3 separate regions of the Homo sapiens genome follow, and regions 1 and 3 are each linked to region 2. Evidence: promoter capture Hi-C in 16 types of primary human blood cells and fetal thymus (Javierre and others, 2016). All regions are on one chromosome and are shown on one strand. Each heading gives the region's core, a stretch centred on a gene start or on the middle of the fragment in contact. The rest is flanking DNA. Distances are from core to core; before and after follow the strand shown.

The links. The method cuts DNA at HindIII sites, captures the fragments that hold promoters and counts their contacts. A CHiCAGO score of 5 or more calls a contact.
Region 1: a fragment that was not itself captured here is called in contact with the fragment with the promoter of C21orf91-OT1 in region 2 in 3 of 17 cell types (total CD4 T cells, activated CD4 T cells and naive CD8 T cells); the score reaches 7.4 in total CD4 T cells.
Region 3: the fragment with the promoter of NRIP1 here is called in contact with the fragment with the promoter of C21orf91-OT1 in region 2 in 1 of 17 cell types (activated CD4 T cells); the score reaches 9.0 in activated CD4 T cells.

Annotation. Positions count from the first base shown.
Region 1 is chr21:15,726,341-15,730,736 of GRCh38, forward strand. It overlaps USP25 (ubiquitin specific peptidase 25), which reads left to right and starts at 3,642. Exons shown (of 26, transcript NM_001283041.3): 1 at 3,642-4,098. The coding sequence starts at 4,054. RefSeq lists a silencer at 3,247-4,206. The HindIII fragment of the contact is 156 bases long and covers 2,494-2,649 here.
Region 2 is chr21:17,788,905-17,793,758 of GRCh38, forward strand. C21orf91-OT1 (C21orf91 overlapping transcript 1) reads right to left here and starts at 3,605. Exons shown (of 4, transcript NR_038871.1): 1 at 3,573-3,605. It overlaps C21orf91 (chromosome 21 open reading frame 91), which reads right to left. Exons shown (of 5, transcript NM_001100420.2): 5 at 70-4,677. The coding sequence ends at 4,511. The region is part of intron 2 of LOC124900465 (a long non-coding RNA gene); the gene reads left to right. The HindIII fragment of the contact is 3,892 bases long and covers 1,396-4,854 here.
Region 3 is chr21:15,063,747-15,068,050 of GRCh38, forward strand. NRIP1 (nuclear receptor interacting protein 1) reads right to left here and starts at 1,254. Exons shown (of 4, transcript NM_003489.4): 1 at 999-1,254. It overlaps LINC02920 (long intergenic non-protein coding RNA 2920), which reads left to right and starts at 3,324. Exons shown (of 2, transcript NR_186411.1): 1 at 3,324-3,466; 2 at 3,789-4,091. RefSeq lists silencers at 486-1,345, 1,596-1,775 and an enhancer at 2,106-2,155. The HindIII fragment of the contact is 10,218 bases long and covers 1-4,304 here.

The sequences.
Region 1 (4,396 bases), core at 1,322-3,821, 2.1 Mb before region 2:
TGGCATTTTGTTATGGCAGAACAGACAACTAATACAATACCAAAGAAGCAACATCTAGAATCCCTCAAAATGTGAGGCACTATTGAGGGCTGGAGAAACTAATAATGACACATTTTGTCATATAGAATAATATGGCTGGGCTGCCAGGACCACAAAGCTATCCACTTGGAATGAGAAGTTAGAGTTAGATGTGCACCACAAAAGCACAAATACATTTGTTTTCTCCCCTTCATGGCTGCCCACTTAATTCAATAAGCATTTTATTGTGCATGTATTAGGCAGGCAGTACTCTTGCAGGTTGTAATCTATGAACACCTGATTGCTAAATAGTACCATTATGACATCATAGAAGACTCCTCTTTAAATGATTGCTTATTGTTTTCTTTTTGCTCTTTTACATGGAGTCTTGCTCTGTCACCCTGGCTGGAGTGCAATGGCACATCTCGGCTCACTGCAACATCCGACTCCTAGGTTCAAGCAATTCTCCCTGCCTCAGGCTCCGAGTAGCTGGGATTACAGGTGCCTGCCACCACATCCGGCTAATTTTTGTATTTTTTAGTGGAGACAGTGTTTTGCCATGTTGGCCAGGCTGGGCTTGAACCCCTGACCTGAGGTGATCCGCCCACCTTGGCCTCCCAAAGTGCTGGGATTACAGAGGGGAGCCACCGTGCCCAGCCTGCTTATTGTTTTCTTATTGGTGGAAATAAAATTATCCCAGAATGCCAACACTCCTAAAGGAGGAAAATAATTCAGATCCTCATTGCAGTAGATTTAAAACCACTCTTTTGTAATGGAAATTGTCTAAATCTGCTCCATGGATTCAACAATTCTTTGCTGACATGCCTGTAATCCAGGTAGCTACTTCAGAGGCTGAGGCAGGAGGATCCCTTGAGACCAGGAGCTCAACACCAGCTAGGGGGGAAACAAAGAAAAGTCCTACAAATGTGTTTTGGCAATATGGTAAACTTTTGGTATCCGGAAATGGATTTTTAACCCCTTTCTAAAGATACCTAAGGCGGAAGAATACCAATTTTCTTAGTTGACATATAAAATACAATACTGAGTATTGCTAGAAATAACGTTTTGACCCAAAACAGAAAAATAGTCTTGCAGTTTGTCTTTGTCTATTTTATGCTGCTACAACATAATACCTATGAATGGGTAATTGATAATGATCAGAAATTTGTTGGCTCACAGTTCTGGAGGCAGGGAAGGTCAAGATGGATGGGCCGTCATTTGGTGAAGGCCTTCCTCCTGTATCATTGCATGGTGGAAGAGCTAAGAGAAGGGGAGAAAGAGAGAGAGGGAAGGAAAGGAAAAGGGAAAGAGGCAAGAAGGAGCCAAACTCGTCCTTTTATAAGGAAACTGTCCTTTTGATAGGGACTGCACATTTGTGATAGCACCATTAATTAATTCATGAGGTCAGAGCTCTCATAACTGAATCACCTCTTATTAGGGCCCACCTCCACACTGTTGCATTGGGGATTAAGTTTCCATCACACCGTTTTTGGGGGGATACATTCAAACCACAGCATTGTTACACACAAAATATTTCATATTATATGAAATATGTCACTTAACATTTTTACCTGAATGTCAACAACATAGAGTAATGTAGCAGTTTAGAAGTTATTAAATAATATCTTGAGGATATATAATTCCGACACACATGCATATTAAAGCTGACTCATACAACACAATTGTCACGGCGCAAATTTAAAAAATGAGTTAGGAAATCCCAGCGATGGGTTTTGTGTGCCAATTTATCTCAATTGCTCAAATTTCTCTAATTATTCATCCCAATTGTAAGCCTTCTAAAAAGGAATGCCTATGAGGAAACTTGAAATTTTCTTCTCAATGTTCTTCAGTACAACAGTTAAAAATATTTAAAGAAATGCTGAGTAAGTAGGAAACCCTCAGAAGTAAGCTGAAAATGAACAGTCTCAGTGGGCAAATAGGTCTACCATATAAAAGCTCTATTTGATGATTATCTATTGTAAGATCATCTTTTTTTTTCTGTATGGAAGTAACAAATTTAACTCAGAGAAAAGTTGTATTGCCAAATTCTTGAAATTAAACCTTAGTATCTGGCAACATTTTTCCTCCCATGGTACTAGATTACTAGATTTTTATGTTAAATTTAATTTTCTTGAATTCAAATGTATGAGCTTGATTTCTAAAAAACAAACAAACAAACCAAAAAACCAAAACCCTCATATGGAGAAACATGAAGTTAGCATATAAACAAGAAAAGAAGAAACTTTGATCTATAAATGAAGAAAAATGGGTTTTGATAAGCTCTCTTTGACAGGTCACCCTCCTTGGGCTTCAGAGTTATAAAAAAATCGATACGTGAGATTAGAGATGTGACAGTATTTCTAAATTTCTGTTTCCAACCGTTTCATGACTTTTCATTTCCTCTAGAAAAGACATAGGATATTAATATAATAAGATTTGCAATTTGTTAAATATCAAATGAGTCAACAAATATGAAGCTTCAAGGAAAAGGTGACAACAGGTGGTACCAGACATCTGAGCTGCAGAACAAAGATGGTTGTAAAGTGCACAGAACTGTTACAAAGCCTTAAGAGCTACTATAATCCATGATTATTAAATAACACCACATACTATTTCAATTAGCATTTGCCAAGCTTGCTTTCCTTGTCATTGGATTAAAAATTATACCCGGATTTTCAAGTGTATTCTATTTGTGACAATATGCATTGATAATTTCTCTCCTCACACTGCTGCACTCTCACCTCCGTTCCCAGATTAGCTCCTGGAACTCGAGATATTTTTGTGGCTAGAGATTGCTTTCTTAATGTTAGATTTTCCTTACAATTCCATATATAGTCAAGCATTCCATGCATGGTAGTTAATTGTTTGCTTAATTTGGCAACTGGGATATTAGAATTATGTATCATTAGGCAGTGATATTTTTGTAAGGTTGTTTGCTAGATAGATCCTATTTCATTTATATTAAGTCTTGGGAAGATAAACTTTATTTTTCCAGAGCCTAGCAGTGACTGACACATATTCGAATGAATGAAGGTAGATAGAAAATGTCTATATTCATTTACGTAATGATTAGTTAAGGAGAAAAGTACTTCCCAGCATAAAGATTTCTGGCAACCCTTTGCTTATTTGACTTTTCCCTTCAGGCAAGTTCAAGGCTTGTGAAATTCCTAGAAAGGCGAGGGGAGAGAACGCGTGACACAGAAAGGGGCCGGAGTTCGGGACCCTACGCAGTTTTGGGACGTTATGGGCATGGAGGGAAATGTTTGCTTTGGAGGCTTTGGGTAAGCTAGGGATCCGACAAGCCCTGGGCGCAGGGAGGAACGCTGCCCTCCGGCCTCCAGTCGCGCTCCCCGAAGCCCAGCGCCAGCGTCGCGCAACCTGCCGCAGGGGCGGCTCCCGGGCCAGGCAGCCAGGCGCGCCCTCGCCCCACCCGGGAACGCCAGGCCCGCGCAGGGAGGGGCGGGGCTCCATGGCGGCCCCGCCCCGCCGCCCGGAGGGTCACAATGTAGGGTTAGGGCGGCCGGCGGGCGGGGCTCTGCGGGGGAGGAGCCGCCGGGCGGGGGCGGGGATGGCGCGTGGGGGAGGGGAGGGAGGAGGACTCGCGGAGGGAGGAGGACAACGCCATTCCGGGCGGCCGCTCCCTCCGTCCCCTCTCTCCCTTCCCCAAAGCAGCCCGCGGACCGGCAGCAAAGGAACGTGCGAACGCGTGACGCCGCCCGACTGGCTCGCGCTCTCCCGTGCCCCGGCGTCCTCCGCCCGCTCATGGCCCGGGCCGCCGCGGACGAGCGGCGCTGAGGCGGGCCGCGTGGAGACGTGAGGCGGCCGCCGTGGCCCTCACAGTCGGCGTTTCGCCGCCTGCCCGCGGTGCCCGCGCACGCCGGCCGCCATCGCCTTCGCGCCTGGCTGGCGGGGGCGCTGTCCTCCCAGGCCGTCCGCGCCGCTCCCTGGAGCTCGGCGGAGCGCGGCAGCCAGGGCCGGCGGAGGCGCGAGGAGCCGGGCGCCACCGCCGCCGCCGCCGCCGCCGCCGCGGGGGCCATGACCGTGGAGCAGAACGTGCTGCAGCAGAGCGCGGCGCAGAAGGTGAGGCGAGTCCGCCAGCCGGCGGGCCCCACTTCTCCTTCCGACGGGCTGTCCTCTCCCGCTGCGGCCGGGCGCCCCGGCCTCGCCGCCGCCGCCTTCCCGGGCTTCCTCCCCGGTCACCCCCGGCCCCTGCCCATCGCCTCGGGGGCGTCGCGCCCAGAGCCCAGCTGCGTGTGGGAAGCAGAGTGTAGTTTGCGGGCTTCAATCCACTTCCTTCTGCCGATTGTTTTCCCGTAGCAGACGGTGCCAGGTATTGAGAGCGACCCTCACATTCCTACAGTGCTCTGTGTGGCATCTT
Region 2 (4,854 bases), core at 2,355-4,854:
CAAAACCATATAGACCCACTATTTAAAAAAATATAGCTACTTTTCAAAGCATCCACTCAAGCTAGCAGATAACAAAATACTTATTTTATTGTTGTAAAATTAAAAATAGTAGACAAGCATATATACAGTTCCCAAGCAGAGCAATACAAATATATAAATTATTGCAGTTTTCAAAGAAAATATAACAGCCAAATAATTGCCTACTTTTTTGAAACAAACTTGGTTTTTACCACAGCAGTTTCATTTTCTTTTTCCAAAAGTCTTAACACAATTTTGTAAAGTAAATTTCTAACACCAGAGAGATTAAGTTCAATGACCATAGTATACGCTACTGTTTTAAAGCAAGGTTCACACACACACACACACACACACACACACACACAAAATGGAACTGAACAAAAGTCACTACTTAATACTTTCTAAATTGCCTCTTTTGGAGGTACGGTGAAAGAAAAACATTCTAGATGCGTCTGAAAGAAACAAGGTACACACACTTACTAAAATTCCCCTTTGCTTTAGGTGTAGTTGAGGGAAGTTCAACTAATCTTTAAACCTTTTTTGGGAGAGGGCAATACTCATCTTCATGAATTTTTGTTTACTTTGGTAAACTTAAAATTGTGAAATAATTAAATATTATTAAAATGTATTAGTAATGTGGACTCAAACTAAAAAGAACAGGGAAAGTGTATGTTAACAAACTAGATGTTTTGGAGACTTGATATAATATGGTTCATATCAATGTTACCATAGCCAGAAGTTGCTTAATAGGTTAGACTGCACCATAATCAAGGCAATTATGAAAGGATGAAGTGAAATGAAAATACTGAGATGCAAGCATTATAGCCCTCCTCCAAGTTACCTTTATTTTGTGTGAGGGCTCTAGTATTCTGGTAAATAAACTCTTCCCTGCCCCATGACCACAAAACTTTACTTGGTAAGAATAAACTGTTGGGGGTTTTATCTCTTACTAATTCTCACCACAAATTTCCTCAAATAGTTACTCCCACCAACGTAAAAGTTAAAAATACAATCATACACTGAAACGGCATCAATTATCTTTGCCTTACATCTGAACAAAAAGTATTAACTTTTTTATAGCGTATTACACTTCTTAATAAGCACTTAGTAACAACATTTGTCAGTAAATGAACTGGCATACATCAGAAAAAGTTGACAATAGAAGAATTTTACATGGTACCATTTCAAATTTTCATGTACAAGTAACCCACTTTATGGTCACTAACCTGAACCTCCTAATAAGCTACACAAATAATTTACTCTTTAAAAATTCCTACTTTAGAGCATTTACATTTTATAATTTAATAATGAAAGCAGATTCTTCCAAAACAAAACAAAACCCAAACTGGGAAACATTAAAACACAAATAGATCTAAAAGCTTACTTTAAAAAAACTACAAAAATGGACTAACAAGCCTTACCAGTGTAAACACTAAGGTAAAAAATATATAAACAACATAAAGAAAACACAAAACCATTTTCAGTCATAAATATAGTAAAATGAAAAACCAAATCTCAAGATGCCTGTCAAGATATATTTGACTATATATTTTGACTATATTTCTGAAATCACTAACATGAACTTGACATTGAAAAAATAATCCTTAAATGTATATAAAAATGGGCACTTTGTGGTAAAATGAACATGTGTTTTGAAAAACTAAGAATGTGTCTTTGCTCCACCATTGTGCATAGTCAACGACACAACAAAACACTATTCTGCTGCCTGAATCATCTATTACTGGAGTCTCAAGTGCATGCCTTTTAAAAAAGACTAATTTAGATATTAATATGAGGATCAAAGGATAAGATGATAATCTCAAAGTAAAACATAATTGATTTTTAGCTTCATTATAAGGCTGAACTTTAAAGAGAACAACCTGTGTGGTCAAAAACACTTTTCTAATTTTTAAAACTCAATTTAACGTGTCAAATTATAAAACTGAACGTGAAAAAGATTTGTCTTATCTCACTCCCCTTAATCATATAAGCTCTGAAAATTTAGTAATGGATGACTGGCAGTCTGTTTTGCCACTTTTTAAACAGTAGTACATGAGATATGCTTCAAAACATTCTCAAAAATTACTAACAACTGTAGAGAATAGCCAAGTGTGGAAAACAATATTTGTGATATTTCATGTTCTCTTGTTAGAACTCAACTCTGTACCTGATACTTATATTTGCATACACAGTAATTGCATATTTGATTAAGAAAACTAACATAGGACTAAATTATAAGTTTACCAAACATTTGGATAAACTGCTGTGCAAAATACTTCAACAAAAAGTTTTTTTTACTAGGAACTCATCCAAATAAAGTAGTGTGAGTACCAGCACCACAAAGTTTTTTTTAAGAGCACCTCTCCTTTTTAGAGCTTAAGTAGAAATATCTAAATGGAATAAATCAGAGTCCCACTTAAGACCTTAGCACATGCACACGTTCATCCACTTGTTCCGTACTCATTAGCAAAGCTATGTATATTTGTCAGAAAACTCCTTTCTTTGGATAACACTGTTGTATTCAGGACTGCAACTTATGGCTCATATTCTGGAAATATGCTACTATTGATATCAAATGCAACATATCCCCAACTTTTATGACTGTCCCTAACTCATCTAAACACAAACCCAAATGTGTGCAAACACACTGGCTGGTAACAATCTTACTGAATTACGCCAAAAAAGAGTAAAGTCAAATTTGAAAATGTGGGAACAATTAAGCACTAAGATATTAATCAGGAAATGTATTTACCCAGCTTGTAAGTTTGAATATTTTGATATTGCACACATTTAATTTAAAGCTCATCAAAACTAAGGCAATGCATCCATACTCCCTGGATTTTAAATTCATTTTGCATGACTTAAAGAATTGAGAGAAATCGAAAGCATCTTTCAAAAATTCCCTCCAAAAAGTAATGTTATACTTCAAAGAAAAACAAAATCAACAGATATCAATTAATACCCTCAGGCCAATTTAACACGTCAGCATTACAAAAAGTTGTTTTCAATTAAACTGAAGTGTTTCTTTGCTTAAATACTTTCTTGTGTTCAACAACAAAATCTGACCCAAGCCAGGGTAGGCTGCCAAATTTAAGGCAAATGTCATTTATATCTTTATGCATGAAGCTGCCACGTTACTGGGCTTTTCAGCAGATACTTTCAAGCAAGGATCTACCTCATAAGTACATTCTAAACATGAGTTAAAAACAGAATTTAGAGCCCATTTTAATTCTGCATTGGTTATAGCCTTTACTGTAATACATTATTAAAATTTATCTAGCTGTTTGGCACAATCTGTTAGATAAAAACTCTTTGGAAGCATCATAGGCAACTTACGAGAACATTCTCTTAATACATAGGTTTATTTTTTTTTAATTAGGAGTTTTGCTTTTCTTCTGTAGAACAATCCTATATTTCTCTATAGAGTCTAAAGTTTAGAAAAATACCTCACAATGCTTTCTTTGAGCACTAAGTTCAATGATGGTGATAATACAATTTGGACAGTTTAAGTATTCTTGAAACTTTACCCAAAGTGGCACACAAAATAATCTTACTTTTTTTTTTCAAAGACAGAACAATTTCACAGCACACTCAATTTGAAGATAGACATTATATTTGAATTGGAAGTGAGGCTTGACTTACTCTGTCCAAATTCTAATGCATCACAGTCACTGGTGTGAAGCTAATAATGAAAGAAGCAAGAGGAGGCTTTCATTTCTATGGAGACAAATTGACATAGAAGCCAGATTAGTCTTTTCTTCCTGAACTAAGAACTGCTTTTGTTAGAAAACAAAATAATGTATTGTATTTACCTGAATACTGCTTTAAAAAGTTATTAATTCTTCTTTTACAAGAGGTATTAGAAATTAAAACAACTCAGATTTCTAATCCAAAATATATTTATCTTTGGAAAGCAAGGTAACCGTTGTGAAAACATTGTATTAAGAGAATAAAATGCAGTGACCTGAAATATGGGTGAACATATTCACACATGATAATGTAAATAAATATACAGAACCACTCAAATACACATTTATAAAGAGAATGGCAAAGTACCTAAAATAGCATTTTCACATATAAAATTTTTATATTAAAATATTGCTCATAATAAATAAGAGGTGATATGAATTCCATTTCCCTCTTAAAAATTATCTCTAGTAGTTTACACTAAGGAGTTAATCTGTTGTTTTGACAGGTGAATTAAAATGTTTAATAAAATGACACTGTAACAGTATATTTAAGTAGTCACATGTGATAAAATTTGTTTAGTAATTCTGGGAAAAAAGAGTCCCCAAATGAGCCAAAATGATTAGCCCTAGAAGACTAGAGTATAATGATCTGCTTTATTTGACAAAGATGTTAAATACTGCCTTATGTTTGGCAAATTTAATGACCATAAAAAAACGGACCACAACTTTCTTCAAACTTCTTCAAAGTTTGCATGTCTGGGAGACCAATAAAGGGCAGGGCATACGAAGTAAGTCTGTTTAGGTCAGTTGTTTATGGGTAGGTGCGACTTCATTCCTGTTCGCCCTACTTGCAGACATGGTAACTTAGAACAGTTCTTCAGAAGCTGTTCGATGGCAACGTGGCGGACATGGAGCTGTGAGGCCAAAGAATCTTTTTCTTGCACTTGGTGAGTTAACTCTTCAAAAACTTCTGTAAAAGATTTAAAAACTTTCATTTTTAGTATGCAGAAAGCCGGTGCTATGATTTATATTTCAAGAACTCTAACTGAAATCTATGCATTGGGCAAAGTGTCACAATGAAACTGATTTGATACCAAGGAAACAGTTCTGTTCTCTACAAAGCATATCAGTTCTGATCATCCTAGGC
Region 3 (4,304 bases), core at 4-2,503, 2.7 Mb before region 2:
AGAACGTCTTTTTTCCCCAAAGTAAAATGTGCCATTAAAAAATATTTTTAAAACGCAAAAGTGCTTATCATTCCGTACTTCTTTTACTACCTTCAGCAGCCAATTATTGACGTGATAAAAGGTAGAAACTCCTGGAATGCTTCAGAGATCAACATGTGTCACAGACTCCCAGCCTGTCCGCCTCTAAGACACAGTTGGTTCCTTTGTTCCTTCTGACTGAACACCAACTCCTGATCAAAATTGGGAAACTACTTTGGAAGGGATGGGAGGGTCTGCAGAATACATCCACGGAAACCTTCATAAAACAATATTCAATCGTAATAAGGTGGACACAGAAGAAGGGAGAAAAGGCAGCCTCCCGGACTTCCACCGGGCTCACCCTAAATGGGGGCCGGCCCCTGGCTCCTGGTAAAATGATGGCTGAGGCCTCGGGTCCGTGAGCCTCGCCATCGGGAGGGGACCGCGAGTGCGGGCAGAGCGGCCCGGGGTCGGGTGGGGGCCGGGCGAGCTGTCCCTTTTCCTATTCACTTTCCCAGCCGGGTATCCAGCGAGCAAGGAGCAGGGAGGCACCCAGGCGAAAGGCGCCGCCCAGGATCCGGCTGGACAGCAGGACGGAGAGCGGCGAGGCGAGCGGTGCCCGGGGTTCGGGACCGAGAGGGCAAGCGAGCGGGGGCAACCCCGACCCGGCCCCCCGAGTCCGGCCCCGCTCAGGGGCCACGCGACGGCCGCCCCCTTGCCCAGAACTGGCACGGACGGGCGGGCCGACCCGGGGCCACTCCACAACTTGCCGGCCCGCCGCCCCGGCCCCCCGCGAGAACCCGGAGACTCGAACCAGGCAGCAGAGGCAGGATTTCCCCGGAAACGCGCCCTCCCCGCCGCCCCGACGCCCCCGCGGCCCTGCCAGCCAAGCGAGAGCCGACGCGGGCCGCGCTCCCGGGCCGTTTCCGGCGGCGCCGGCGGCCGCTACTCCTGGCGCCCTGGCCGCGGCCGTCACTCACCCCAGGCCGCCGCGGCTCCCAGCCTCCGGCTCCGTCAGGCTCGGTCCGCGAAGGCGCCTGCCGCCCCGTCCTGGCCCGGCGCCCCGGCGAGCTCTTCCCTCCGACCAGCGGCGCTCACGGCGCAGCGGCGGACGCGAGGCCACGGGCGGACGGGCGCGCGCGGGTGGCGGGCGGGCGTGGGGCCGGGTCGTCCCTGCGCCTCGCCGCCGCCTCCTCCGCCGCCGCCTCCCGAGTTCGGGGCTCTGCTGCAATGTCTGCGAGGCTGACTTTGAGCGCCTCGCTCACCGCCCGCCCGCAGCCGCGCTCCTCCCTCCGCCGCCGAGTCCGCCGCGGCCCAGTCCCTCCCCTCGCCGCCCCACGCCATTCAGCTCTTCAGCCAAGTTTCTTAACCCTTTTCTCCCCCTCCCTCCCATTGTCACCCGGTCAGGAGGAAGCCGCGCGGATCCGGGCGGCTCACAGGAGCTGCGGAACCCCCTCTGTTTCGTGGATTTCCTTCTCGCCTGCTCTCCGGGTGTCCCAGACGGGGCTGCAAGACCCGGAGGCAGCGAGAGGACCGCGTCCCCGAGAGAGGGGCTGCACGGCGCGCCCGGGCCGTCCCCCGGGCTCCCAGCTCTGTCCAGCCGCCCGCGACCGCTGCAGGCGCCTGGACAGCTCCTCCTGGGGACCGGGGAAAGCGCTCTTGGGACCCAGGCCGAATGCTCCCGTTTGGGCACAGCCTGGGGGCCGGGGCGCCCCAGACGCTCCAGGGTCCCCGCCTGCCTTAAGCGTCTACCTCCTCCCCTTCACCCCACAACACGCGCTCTCTGGGCCCCCTTTCACCCACCCACCCCCAATTTCTATCTCCTTGTAATCTGTGTGTCCTGCTTTAATGTTGGGGGGCACGGGCGCGAACTCTGGGTCACTTTGACCCCACGCCCAGCACGTAGTAGGCGCCCAGCACTCGTGTGGAGCGACTCTGGGAGGAAAACTAGGAAGGAGACCTGAGGAGCGCCCCGCTCAGCTCCCTGGACAGACGTAGGACCCAGGAGCAGGGTTAATCCTCGGCTGCTTTGTCACTGCGAAGTCTCCAGCGGAGTCTGTCAGCCAATCTGCATCATCCCCGGGAAGGATCTGACCCAACAAGACAAGGGAAAAGGAGCAGGGCTGCTACTTCTTCAGCAGCTCTCCTCGGTTCGGTCTCCGAATAAGAAATAACAATTACATCACGAGGCCGGGGCGGCAGCGCGGTGGAGCCTCTCGGTTTCCTGCAGCCTAATCTCACTGAACCCGCCTCTAAATTGGGGGGGCCACAGATTGGTGAAACGAGAAAGTGGAAGGAGGAGAGAGTCATACGAAACCATAATTTCCCCTTATCCTTGTATTTGCTGTTTGAAAAATCGTATCCTCAACGCTCCCCAGACATCTCACTAGAACTATTAACACCCCCTCAACACCTCCCCAGATGTCAGGTTTCTTTTTGACTTGAGCATCTAGCATTTAGTAATTCGCCATGAAAAAAATTACCAGGGGAAGCGAGTGTTGTTGCTGAAATTGTTTTTGCTTGACACAAAAAAGCTAAAGTACAGCTTAGTCTCACCCGAAATTCTGAAACGGCATGCCCGTGTTAAAACACTTATTACATAAGACAAATGAGCCGATGAGGCACTCCATTCTTATATGTAGGTTTTCATATCCTGAAGAATTTGATAGCATTTGGAAATGAAGTTGCTAATGCGCTTAAAAAACAAAAACTATCCAAGTCATGAAACTGTATTCTGTGCCTGTTATGTAATGGCTGTATTGTGTATTGCAAATTTCACTTAACCTTTAAACAATATGAATGAGAGTTTTAGAATACTGTCACAGTCTTGAAAGTGAAAGCAATTTTTCAAATTAATGCTTAATAAATTCAGCACCCAGCACAGTGCCGGGCACATAGTGCCAATGTTTTCCTTAGTGGCAATGGCACATTTTAAAACAATTATTTTTCATCACCCTAGTGATTGAACTATGCAATCTGTTGCCATTTTATATAGTTAAACCTCATATAATATAATACCATATTATTTGCATATACCACAATTCAAAATCTGCTCTAGGCAAAATAAAGTCTGCTGTTTTTTAGTGCATCATTTATTCAGAATTGATACAAAGCAAACCGTTTCAATTCAATGATGACCAGCATAATTGGAGCTTGGCCCTTAGTGGGGGGTCAAACTTTTTTTATGAAAATTATTTTTAACCATTATACAGATTTTTCTACAATGTATTGCAAATGTTTCTCTTAAGCAGTTTGTTGAACGTCATTTAGCATTTTCTTGATAATTCAATGTTAATTTTATTAAAAGTAATTATTGTAGTAGGTTGTAGCGGATTCAGTAAATATATCCAGTTCCTATTCTATATTCTTTCTAGGTGTTAGGAATGCTCCCAGGAGGTACAAAAGCTATCAGTCGCTGCACCGAAGGACTCTAGGATGCTATGACTTAGTGATTATCTCTGCCTTTTGTAATTTCTCTCTCTCCCCCTTCACTAACTGACAATCTATTGTCCTTACTGTTACTAGCATAGCTGCCACTAACATTCTCCTCATCTTCTGATGGGTAACTTCCAGTCTAGTGCGGACTGGGAATCCAGATAGCCTCACTTGTCACAATTCTGTCTAAAGTAAACTTAATAGGTTCTGGGTAAGGGACTAATGGGCTCACCAAGGAGTAGGGCGCACACACACCTTAGTGCATAGACTTTGGGAAAGATATTTGGACTACTCAAGTCTATCTTTTAAATACATTCCTCTTACTTCTTAACCAGGTTTTGGACCATGGAGATTGCCCAGCAAGCCGAGAATATTCCAGCCCTCCAACATTGTTGTTAAAAAGTCCACTGCTGTATGTTAGGTGACTTCCCAAAGCTGCTCACTACTTCTTCTTATTCTGTTTTCTCAACCCCACAAAAATCCAATCACTGAAATCCTGAACTCTTTTGATAGTGGCATGAGTGTTAAGTAAATTGCACACCTCTTGTGGAATTCATTTTCACTTAATCATGCTAATTATGTGGAGACTTGTTTGTTGTTGTTCTTTGTTTTTTTAAGTAAATCAATACCTAAATTTCCTGGCTAACAGAGTCATTGCAAGGATACTAGGGCATTATATGTAATATAAGAATGCCTATTTGGTAATTTGTACTTTGAAGTCAAGTCTCATTTGAATCATTTGTGATGTGAAAACAATGCTGTTGGGTTTATATACTTAAACACCTAATTATTGTTTTACGTCCAGGGTTCCTGTGGGATCACATGCCTTTAGTTCAGTCTCAGTATACCTC